2 separate regions of the Homo sapiens genome follow, and region 1 is linked to region 2. Evidence: promoter capture Hi-C in 16 types of primary human blood cells and fetal thymus (Javierre and others, 2016). All regions are on one chromosome and are shown on one strand. The core of a region is centred on a gene start or on the middle of the fragment in contact, and the rest is flanking DNA. Distances in the headings are between cores, read along the strand shown.

What was found. The method cuts DNA at HindIII sites, captures the fragments that hold promoters and counts their contacts. A CHiCAGO score of 5 or more calls a contact.
Region 1: a fragment that was not itself captured here is called in contact with the fragment with the promoter of CSGALNACT2 in region 2 in 1 of 17 cell types (M0 macrophages); the score reaches 5.3 in M0 macrophages.

Annotation. Positions count from the first base shown.
Region 1 is chr10:44,987,524-44,993,055 of GRCh38, forward strand. It overlaps RASSF4 (Ras association domain family member 4), which reads left to right. Exons shown (of 11, transcript NM_032023.4): 7 at 1,751-1,852; 8 at 2,147-2,198; 9 at 3,425-3,546; 10 at 4,382-4,479. Among named protein-coding and RNA genes, the nearest start is that of ZNF22-AS1, 11 kb to the right of the region's middle. RefSeq lists enhancers at 3,479-4,170, 4,200-4,701, 4,702-5,201. The HindIII fragment of the contact is 6,881 bases long and covers 1-4,800 here.
Region 2 is chr10:43,135,879-43,141,142 of GRCh38, forward strand. CSGALNACT2 (chondroitin sulfate N-acetylgalactosaminyltransferase 2) reads left to right here and starts at 2,567. Exons shown (of 8, transcript NM_018590.5): 1 at 2,567-2,689. It overlaps CSGALNACT2-DT (CSGALNACT2 divergent transcript), which reads right to left and starts at 2,515. Exons shown (of 1, transcript NR_186456.1): 1 at 946-2,515. RefSeq lists silencers at 1,864-2,063, 2,194-2,253, 2,424-2,923, 3,034-3,103. The HindIII fragment of the contact is 5,511 bases long and covers 1-3,239 here.

The sequences.
Region 1 (5,532 bases), core at 110-2,609, 1.9 Mb after region 2:
CACAGCGTGCTTCATTTTATTGTGCTTCTTGTTACTGTACCTTGCAGATTTTTGCAAATGGAAGGTTGCTGTTCAGCAACCTTCCATTTGCAAAAATGTGCACTTTTTTTTTTTTTTTTGCTGCACCTGCGGTTTCTGCAAATTGAAGGTGTGTGGCAACCTTGTGTTGAACAAGTCTATCGGTGCCGTTTTCCAACACTATGTGCTCACTTTGTGTCTCTGTGTCAGATTTTTTAGCAATAAAGTAGTTTTAATTAAGGCATGCATATTTTTTAGATGTAGTACTGTCTCACCCTTAAGAAACTACAGTATAGTATAAACATATCTTGTATATGCCCTGGGAAACCAAAACATTTGTGTGACTCACTTTATTGAGATATTCGCTTCATTGTGATGGTCTGGACCTGAACTCACAATGGCTCCCAGGTGTGCCTGGACTTATCAGAGCGGGGATACTGAATAGGTCCTTGAGCTCTCTGAGCCTTAGCTACCTCCTTGGGAAAACAGAGCTAGGATCTCAGAGGAGGAATATGCGAATCTAAACTTGAGTTTGAAAAGCAAGGAGAGGTTCACCTGCAGAGGAGTCACATTCGCTGGGAGGCACCAGCACCAGGGGGGTAACATGTAGGTTTTCAGGAATCATGGAATCCTTTGAGTCAGGGCTCTGTCTTTTCTAGGTGGGTAACTCTGAACAAGCTGGTTAACCTCCTAAAGCCTCTGATTCCTTTCTAAGAAAAGGGGACTAGTTATAGCTGCCTCAAAGGGTTGTTATGAATATTAAATCAATGATTGTATGTAAAATCTTAGCGGGTTCAATACACAGCTAGGGTTTATTGAGGACGGACCTATTATGTGTCAGGCAGAGTCCTGGTTGATTTCATATATGGTGTCTCTTAGGCAAAGGCAAGATACCTGCAAAAATATAATGTGTCCCCCCACCCCCCAGCCAAATTGTGAAGAAGCTCTGTGACTGGAGCACATGGTGCTTGTTAGGCAACCATAGTGTCATACGTGCGAGACAATGAGAAGAACTACAGATGTTATTGCACAGTCCCCAGGAAGCCTTCAGATACTTTTAGACCCGCGCTTTCAAACAGTGCTTCTCACATTGAACTGCACAGATCGCTTCGCCTTGTGTTCTACAGACGCAGACTCTGATTCAGATGGTATGGAGCAGGGTAGGGAAGGGAGCCGAGACTGTATGGATGCAGCTGGGCTAGACGTCACTTGGAGGTGCAAGGGTTTTAGAAGTCCGTTCCTGTAGGCAGCGGTGCAGACTACGGATTAGAGGGACTGAGACCAGAAGGGAACAAGCTGGGAAGCTGATATGGTGTGATCAGTGCCTCTACTAGGCACTGCTGGGAGAATGAAGAGGAGGAGACAGATTGGGTAACTTTCAGCCTTAGAATCAACAGACAACTGGTGACTTAATCAATAGAAAGAGTGATGGAGAGACTGATTCCCCCACCCTTGTGAATGACTTCCATGGCCCTGGTTCCTCGGGTCCAGAGAGCTGGCCCTTCTGGGTGTGTAGACATCTTCCTTAGGCCTCTGGAAGGAGTGCACTACTACAGCTTCCCGGAGTGTCTCCCAGGTCTGGGAACAGCTTATGTGTGCATCAGCGTGAATGGACAGGTGCAGGTGTTCCCAGATCTCAGCGTCACCTGCTGCCTTGGTCTGTTCACCGTTGTGATGTCAGTCCCTTGTCCCCTCTGGGCCTGACCTGAACTTCTCTCCCTTCCTGGTACAGACCTCCGTGTTTACTCCAGCCTATGGATCCGTGACCAATGTGAGGGTCAACAGCACCATGACAACCCTGCAGGTGCTCACCCTGCTGCTGAACAAATTTAGGGTAAGCCTGGTCAGGAGCAGCCTTGCCCCAGGATGCCAGTGGTCTGCTATTCTGTTGGGGGTGGGGTTCTGGGGAAAGCTGCCCGTGGCAGAAGCTGCCTGGGCAGAAGGTCTAGCAAGGGTCCCTCTGCTGAGCTTTGGTTTCTCGGATTTCAAGCAAGAGGAGGTTGGGAGAGGACAGGTTCCTTGCAACTTGCGTGTGTGTTACTGGGGGTGTAGTTACTGTCAGGGGACCCTCTCAGTTCTCTCCCATCTCCAAGCACCGTGATCTGACTTCCTGTGACTGCCTGTGCAGGTGGAAGATGGCCCCAGTGAGTTCGCACTCTACATCGTTCACGAGTCTGGGGGTAAGTACCTGCCCCACTTCTGGATCGTAAAAGCAAAAGGTCTCTACCTGTTCAGCAAGCCCCCTCCCCACCAACCACTGACTGTACTCCCTTCCAGATGGGCTCCGTGCTGGCTTGCCTAGTGGGCTAGGGCACACTGTGCCTCCCAGCATGAACATTTCTCCCCCACCCAAACCCAGGCACACTATGGAAGCCTTGAGGAAAAGAAAACATACTTTTGGCTTCGAATTTAAAGCACATTAAAATGTCCTTGGATTTTCTAGGTCGCTCAGTACATTAAGTTTAATTCTTTCAGGATTCTGAAGGAGAATCCCACCAAGCTATAGGAAGCCTCCCTCTCCGCCTCTTCCAGAGAAATGGATGGGTGGGTACCTAGCTCCTTGGCGCCGAGTCAGGAAGGGTGGGGTGCGTGTCGCAGTGCATCAGGCCCTGGCCCTCCCGTCTCAGCTTTCCTTTCTCCCACCCCTCAGATCTTGTTTCTCTTCAAGCTGCACCTTTGCTGAATGACACTGTAGGGGAGGAAAATTATCTTCTCTTTCTACCCATTTAGGTTCACTGGCTGGGGCCCTGTATTTAGATTAACAAAAGACAGATTAAGGAGAAGAACAAACAGAAGTTTGTTAACACTTGCATCATGCATGCCCTTTGGAATATCCAGGGATGAATGGTCAGAATTTGGGCTTAAATAGCATATTCACAAAAGAGCAGTAAGTTTTTAGAGAAGTGACAAGACAGAGGAGAAGGGCCTGAGTTTCTGGGGAGGCGAAGGGTGGGAAGGTCACCGCACGGGGAGCTGCGGGAAGGGAAGGGCTTCAGCGGGACGTGCTGTGCAGGTTCCTCTGGTGCCCTCTCCAGGCTGAGGAGGGGCTCGGGTTGTCTCTGGTGATTAACTCCATCATTGCCTAGAGAGGGACGGGGGCACACCTTGACAAATTTATGTCCTGCTTTTTGGCAAATAGGGGAGGGCAAAGAGCCTCACTTGTATCTTCTTCTTCTCAATTGCCAGCCGCTCCACTTAATCCTTATGCCAAAGTGGCAGATCTGGGGGCCCTGTTCTGCCTCCCTTCTGCATGAGCAGGAATCTCTCAGGGCAGCGCTGTTAGCGAGGTCTGTGTTCTTAGGGTTCCCTGCGCCCCTAGACGCACATTTTCTATCAGTTCCTAATCTGGAACAGACAGAGGTGATCCTAATCTCCCGTGATTTTTGTAAACCACCTTCTTTTTCAGAGCGGACAAAATTAAAAGACTGCGAGTACCCGCTGATTTCCAGAATCCTGCATGGGCCATGTGAGAAGATCGCCAGGATCTTCCTGATGGAAGCTGACTTGGGCGTGGAAGTCCCCCATGAAGTGAGTGGGGGCCAAGGCTGGGGAGGCCTGCTCTAGGGTGAGGGGTTCTTGGGTGACGGGGCCTCCCAAGGACTCCTGGCCAGAGCCCTGTCAGTTGATGTCTCCAGGAGCTCCACACTCTCCCAAAGGGCTCCCAGCCTAGCACAGGGAGGCGCCAGCCCTCCCTCTCCCATCAGTGACCGCCAGCACCAGCAGCTTAGGGGAAAGAAGAATTTGGGTCCTATAAAACCATGGCCTGTCCTTTTCCTCTAGGGAAGTAAAGTCTTTTCCTTCATTGGAATGTATTTTGTTGTCATTATGTGAGAGACCTATGCAAAGGCTTTTTAACTAGGCCCTACCTCGCACCTGTGGAAAACAGGGAGATATTTAAGTCTTACCAACAGCCTGAGTTCTGACCAGACAGTGAGTGCATTTCCAAACTCCTCTGCATAGAAGATGCTTACAGGGTTTGAACCTCAAGTAGGAGGCCTAGTGACCCCGTATCCCTCAGGCTGCTGCAATTGCATTCCATTGTTAGAAACAATGGTGCTCCCACCTCCCTACCCCCTAGCCCAGAGGGCACCCAATGTGACAATGCTGCTGTACTGAATGCTCTTCCTAATATTCAGTTTAATATTTCCTCCCAGGGATAACAGTTGCCTTTGAGATAGTAATAGGCTCCCGTCCTGGCATCTGTACACAACACAGCAGTGTGGGGGTGGGGTGGGAAAAGCGGCAGCTCCTTCTGTGGATACAAGATGTTGGCTGGATGGGCCACTATGGAAGCCTTGAGGAAAAGAAAACATACTTTTGGCTTCGAATTTAAAGCACATTAAAATGTTCTTGGATTTTCTAGGTCGCTCAGTACATTAAGTTTGAAATGCCGGTGCTGGACAGTTTTGTTGAAAAATTAAAAGAAGAGGAAGAAAGAGAAATAATCAAACTGACCATGAAGTAAGCAGCACTTAAACAGACAGTCATGGGTCCTGAACATCAGGGCAGGTCTGCAAAGCACAGCACCAGTGCCGGCTGGGAGGTCTCTCTCCTCCATGGGCACCAGTACCCTGGTACGGGAAGGCCTGCTAACCCTAGCTCCCCAGCATCACCCTCTGGCCCCCTGCTCGGTATTGCCACCACGCTGGGGTGACAGCTTGCCAAAACAGTGGGACACAGCCCCGATCACCCATCCAGTCTTGGCATCCTCACCAGCGCAGGCATGAGCTGCAGAACACCTGGCAGGAAAGTCAGGCAGGAACCCAAGTGGGCGCTGGGTCAAGCTTCTGAGTTCTGCTGGTGATGTGGCTCCAAGGAGCAGGCATGCTGAGGCAGACTTGGCCTGATTAGGGCCTTTTGTCCTAGTGGGAATTCTGAGCCTTCCCCAAAGTGGCAGATGCTGGAACTCCCAGCCTCAGCCGATGTTTTCAGGTGCAGAGGGCTAGTTCAATGAAAAGGTGAGCAGGTCTCACCTGCCAGCTCCTGGGGACACCACGCCAGGGTCCGGATGCATGAGTTAGCCAGGCTGTAGTCCCAATGACGTCTCCCCCTCAGCAAAGTGAAGTGTGGTCCAGGACTTGTGGAGGGCACCCCACCAGGGCTGGTGGGGAGGCAGCTAGGAAGGAAAGGGCAGGAGCTCACTGAGAGGGCCTGGGGTGTGTGGGGAAAGGATGGATGTTAGCCTCTGGTTGAATGACCCGTGGAAAGCCACATCCTCCACAGGCTCCTGTCTGTGCAGCCAGACCCCAAACAGGCAGAGGAGACCAAAGTCAGAGGGAATCTTCCATTCTGCAGTCAGTCCTGACCCCGTAAGATTTGAGAGCTGAAAGGGATCTGGGGGGCAACTAGTGGGTCCACTCAACGTACAGAGTGGACGCTGAGGCCCAGCACAAGGAAGGTTGCCGCATAGGTTATGGCAGAATCTGGGCTGAAACATGGGCTTCCCGATCTCTGCTCTACCGCCCTGTCCACTCCAGTGTGCTGTTGTCTGTATTAGAGTCTGCAATAGAAATG
Region 2 (5,264 bases), core at 1,317-3,816:
GCTTTAGCCAGAGTCTTTCAGGGAAGCACTTTTTGAATCAGAATATCATTTGGAGACCTCTGACTACCAATCAAAAAAGGCTGCTCATTGGGCCTAAGAAATCTTATTCTCTTTCGTTTCTAAGGCATCTCTCAAATGAGCAATTTTGTTCAAGTTAGATGTTCTCCAAATAAGATCTTCACCAAATCAACCTTGGTGAAGTTAATGCTTTTCAGAGATGGGCGTAAGGATTAGAATTGTTAGAGAGTATATGTAAGAAGCAGGAGTTTTTTCTGGAGGAGGAGATTTAAACTTAGACAACACCATGAATGCTGGCTGGTGAGGCTGGCGAGAAATGGAATGTTTGTGTCTCTCAGGACATGAAAGCGAGACGGAAGGAGAACCTCATTCAGTTTTACTGGAAACCCACAGCAAAGTTTCTCCAAGTAGAGGCCGGTGTGATGAGAACTGCTAAATCATGAGCTGCGAGGCTGGCTCAAACAAGAGGCTTATGAGCCCCATGCCTGTGTCCTTTCCTACGGTTTTCCTTCTTATGACAAGCAGCACTTTTTGACAGCACAACACTAAACACTAACACAAAATACAGTGAAAAGGGATAAAAAGAATGGCCTGATTCCACTAGAGATGCCAGACAAATGAGAATCAATAACAAAACCAGAGTACCAAACTGAGAATAAATAGCCAGAGACCTCCACGCAGAGTGAGGTGAGCCCTAGTGCTGACCACATCGGCGCACCTGATAGGCCGAGAACATGGAGGCATGAGGGGCCTCTGGGTGGCACAATGGGTGGAAGCCTGGGGACCTCAGGGACAAGCAGTACAGACTTACCATGGGATCACCAGGAAAACTGTGGAAACCAGCAAAGGCTATTTATTCACAACTTGCTATAGCAGGGGAATCAGCCAGCATCACTTACTTTTGGTAGAAATTTAAAAGGCCCGAAAGAGATGGGAAACTTTTATTGTTTTGTTTTGTTTAAGTATCAGATTGGAAATTATTGGCAGGAAATGTTTTTAATTACATTTTTCTGATATTAAACCCAACACAGTTGTACTTTAATATTTTCCCTAGGAGAACTACTTATTTTACAACTATATCCCAGTGTATCACCCATGATCAGCCACATAATTTGAATCATGCATTATCTTCTCTCCACATTCAAATTACATACATTTAGTATTTGGCTACTTAAAAAAAAATCATTAAAAAGTAACAATTTAAATCCATTGATGGGAGAACCTCAGTTAGTTTCAAAACAACAATTCTTGCCAGGCGGGGTGACTCACGCCTGTAATGCCAGCACTTTGGGAGGCCGAAGCTGGAAGATCGCTTGAGCCCAGGAGTTCAAGGCCAGCCTAGGCAACAGAGGGAGGCCCCATCTCTACCAAAAAAAATATTAACAATTAGCCGGGCATGGTGGCATGCACCTGTGGTCCCAGCTACTCGGGAGGCTGAGGCGAGAGGATCGCTGGAGTCGGAGGTGGGGAGGCTGCAGTGAACCGTGATCGCTCCACTGCACTCCAGCCTGGGCGACAGAGCGGGACCCTGTCTCAAAAAATAGATGAATAAATAAATAAAAACAATTATAATGGAAGTTTGGATAGGAATTTAAAACATGTGGCAACTAACCCTGACCCTGCGGCTTCAGTCTCCCCGCCGCTAGCTGAGGGCCGTGGCCGCTGCACAGAGGCTTGTGAGGATTCGGGGGTTCAGGCAGCGCCCGCCGCGCATCTGCCAGACGTGCGGCCACAGGGTAGGAGCAGTAAGAAGGATCCAGGGAAAAAAGTCCACGAATGAGAAAGGAAACCCAGCGTTTGTAGGGCTAGGAGAACAAAGAAAGAAAATGCTGGCGGCGGAGGGCGAGGCTCTGCGGTGCGTGGCAGATGGGAATTTGCTCGGTGGCGGCTCCTCTTTCTGGAGAGCTTCCCAGCGTCCCCTCCCCCGCCAGCCCGCGGTGACGCGCCCGGCACCCACCACAGCCGGCTCTCGGCGCCGTCGCGCCTTCGCTCGCCCGCTTAGGCCGTGCTCGCGGTGGCGTGGGAGACAGAGAGCCCAGGGAGGACCCTGGAACATGCAGTGGTATGGAAGACGCCTAAGAAAGGGCTTCTCTTTCCACTCACGAAAATCAGTGTGTGAGCTCGAAGCCATTTCCCAGCGTGTCCGCCTCAACTCCCTCATTCAACAGATGAGGAATTCCTCCAGGGAAATGCAGTGATGCGCTCACGGCTGCCGGCGGCCCAGCGCCAAGGGGCGCTCCACAGCCCCGCGGCCCGAAGCCCTCGACTCGGCTGCCACGCAGGCCCCGCGGCCCCGCTCGGACTCCCAGGATCGGCTTCCGAGCGGGACAGCGCTGCAGTCCACGAGTCCGGGCAGGGGCGCCTCCAGGCCGGAGCGGTTTCCTGCCTCGGGCACTCTGCTGTCTCCACAAACGGTTTTTGGAGGCACACACACGGATACTTTAAACACGTCGGTGATGAATCGGTACCCAGCTGCCAGTGGCGGAGCTTCCTGGGCGGGGCCGCGGGCGCGCGGCGGCTTCATTTCCTCGCGCGCGCCGGAAGTGGCCTCTCAGGCGCGGCGGCGCGCCCGGGGGTGGGTGGCTGAGGCGGCGGCGGGCCCAAGGCGTGAGGCGCCGCCCGGGTGTCCCCGCGGCGCAGGAGGCGGTGGAGCGCAGAGCGGGCGAGCGCGGTGAGTACCTGGCCCGGCCTCGCCCGCCGGTCCGCGACTCCCGCCGGCTCCGGCCCGGGCGGTGCGGGCGCCGGGGCTGCGGGCTCCTGTGTGGTCGGGTGGGGTCGCCTAGCGGACCGGTCCTGCGGGGGGCCCTGTCTCTCAGGGATGAGCCTGCCGGAGTCGGCACCGGTTTTAGGGAAAGCGCGGCCAGAGACGATTGGTTCGCTTGTCAGTGTTGGGTTTTGTTTTGTTTCGTTTTGTTTTTACCTATTCATCACCATCTCTGCTCCTCTCAGTGGATAAACTTTTTAATCAGTGGTGACCTCGTCATCGCGTTAAAATAGTTCTGCCCTCAGCCCCTCTTTATCTGTAGATGGCAGAGCGAGCGCCGGTAAAGATGCTCTGTCGTGGAGGGCTCAGTGGGGCGGAGGAGATGGGGAGCCTCTGGCGTTGTCGGAGAATGCACCTTAAAAATGACTCTACCCTTGAGCAACGCAGGAAGCACGACAGTGATACTTCTGTTTGTGATGATGGTATTGGCGGTATGATAGTTTGATTATACATCTGAAGCTTCTCTTCCTGAGTCCTTGGCTTGTTAAACTTGGAGGTATTTTCTAGCGTGCTTTTGAGATAGATATGGGATGTCGTGACGTTTCACCGTCATTCAAGGCTCGCGGGAGCAGGGCCTTCATGTCTGGTAATTAATGTTGTTTTTTGAATGTTGTATTAAAATAGTAGCTTCGATCTTGGAAGTAAGAAGCCAAGTATTTTAGGACTGAGTGTTAGCGTTCATTTTGTATTATTGTTCTTGTACCATTTGTTTAAAGTTGTCATGTAACTAAAAGAATGAAAAAAGATGGATTTCCAGTATTTGTGGCTCAGAGGATTTTGGCCTAAATAAACACAGTTCCAACCAGTTTAGAAGCTGCATTTTTCTCTTTGTTTTTGTCGAGGCATAAAATACATATGAAATCAATAAGAGCACGAATCTTAATTGTACAGCTCAATGAATTTTTACATACTTATTACCCTGTGGAACCACCAGATATATCAAATTATAACCATAGAACATTTCCATCATCCTATTTTCCTGTGCTTCTTCCAAGTCAGTTATATCCTTGTTTTCCCATCTGTATTCTAACTTCTCTTATCTGCTTTTAGTTTTCTCTGTTTTGAGCTTCATGTTAATGGAATCACGTAGTATTCTCAGCATATTGTTTGTGGGACACACCCATGCTATTTCATGGTATTGTATTATTACTGTGTAATAGTCTATTGAATAATATGTGACTACTCTTCAGTTGATGGACATTTATGTTCCCAATTTTTGTATATGATGTGTTTTGGATATTAAGAATACTGTGGGCCTGGCGTGGTGGCTCAGGCCTTTTATCCCAGCGCTTGGGGAGGCCGAGGCAGGTGGATCACTTGGTCAGGAGTTCGAGACCAGCCTGGCAAACATGGTGAAACCGCATCTCTACTAAAAATACAAAAATTAGCCAGGCGTGGTGGCGGGCGCCTGTAAGCCCAGCTACTTGGGAGGCTGAGGCGGGAGGTGGAGGTTGCAGTGAGCCGAGATCGTGCCACTGCACTCCAGCCTGGACGACAGAGCCTGACTCGGTCTCAAAAAGAAAAGAAAAAAAAAAGAGTACTGTGGACATTCTTGTAAATTAAATGTCTTGGTGAGCATCTGTATGCATTTCTGTCAGCTATAGAATGACTGAGTCATGGCATAAGCAGAAAATTACCAACATGGAGTCATTACCAACCATACCATTACCAACCAAAGGCAGAAAATTTAACCAACATGGAGTCATCTTTTTTTTAATGTAATAGAATTTGTTATTTTAACTAATATAACATTCAAGGTTGGTTTTAAAAAAGCATAACTATTATGAGTTCAAGACGTAAGTGATTCATTCATTACCATGTTATTATTTACCCTTTGAATTGCACATTTATGACTGTCTTCTGTCGGACTGTCATTGTTTGTTTAACTGTTAGACAAGTCTGTTAGAGCTGGTGAGGATCTGACTCTGAAGTTTAGCATAACATTTACTTAAGAACTGTATTACTCAAGTTAGTGGTTTTTTAGAGGAAATGAAATACCAAAAGGATATGACTGAAAGTGGATTGAAGAATCACGGGACTGCAAGTCAAAGAACTTACATTGTTATTGTCATGCTACACAAGCACTAGGTATAAGTGTAAAATTGAATTATAGGGCTAGTTACAAATGTGAATTCACAGCAGGAGTACAGTGATTTTCATATGGACTGAGATACTACTAGCACATTTATAATGTGAACACACAACAAAAATCACTAAACATTTGTGGGAAATCGGTAGCATCTAAGAGAAGCTTCAGACCAAACAAATACAGAACTAGGCACTGAAGCAGTGGAGCTAATGTAAGACAAAAGAAAGCTTTAAAGTAAGTATTAGTATCTTCAAATTTGTTAAGGTATTATGCCTACTGAACACATACAGGCTGCCATGAAAAAAAGCAATTGATTCTTGAATATTTAAACATGGAAAGTAGGAAAGGGCCAGGTGTGGTGGCTCATGCCTGTAATTCCAACACTTTGGAAGG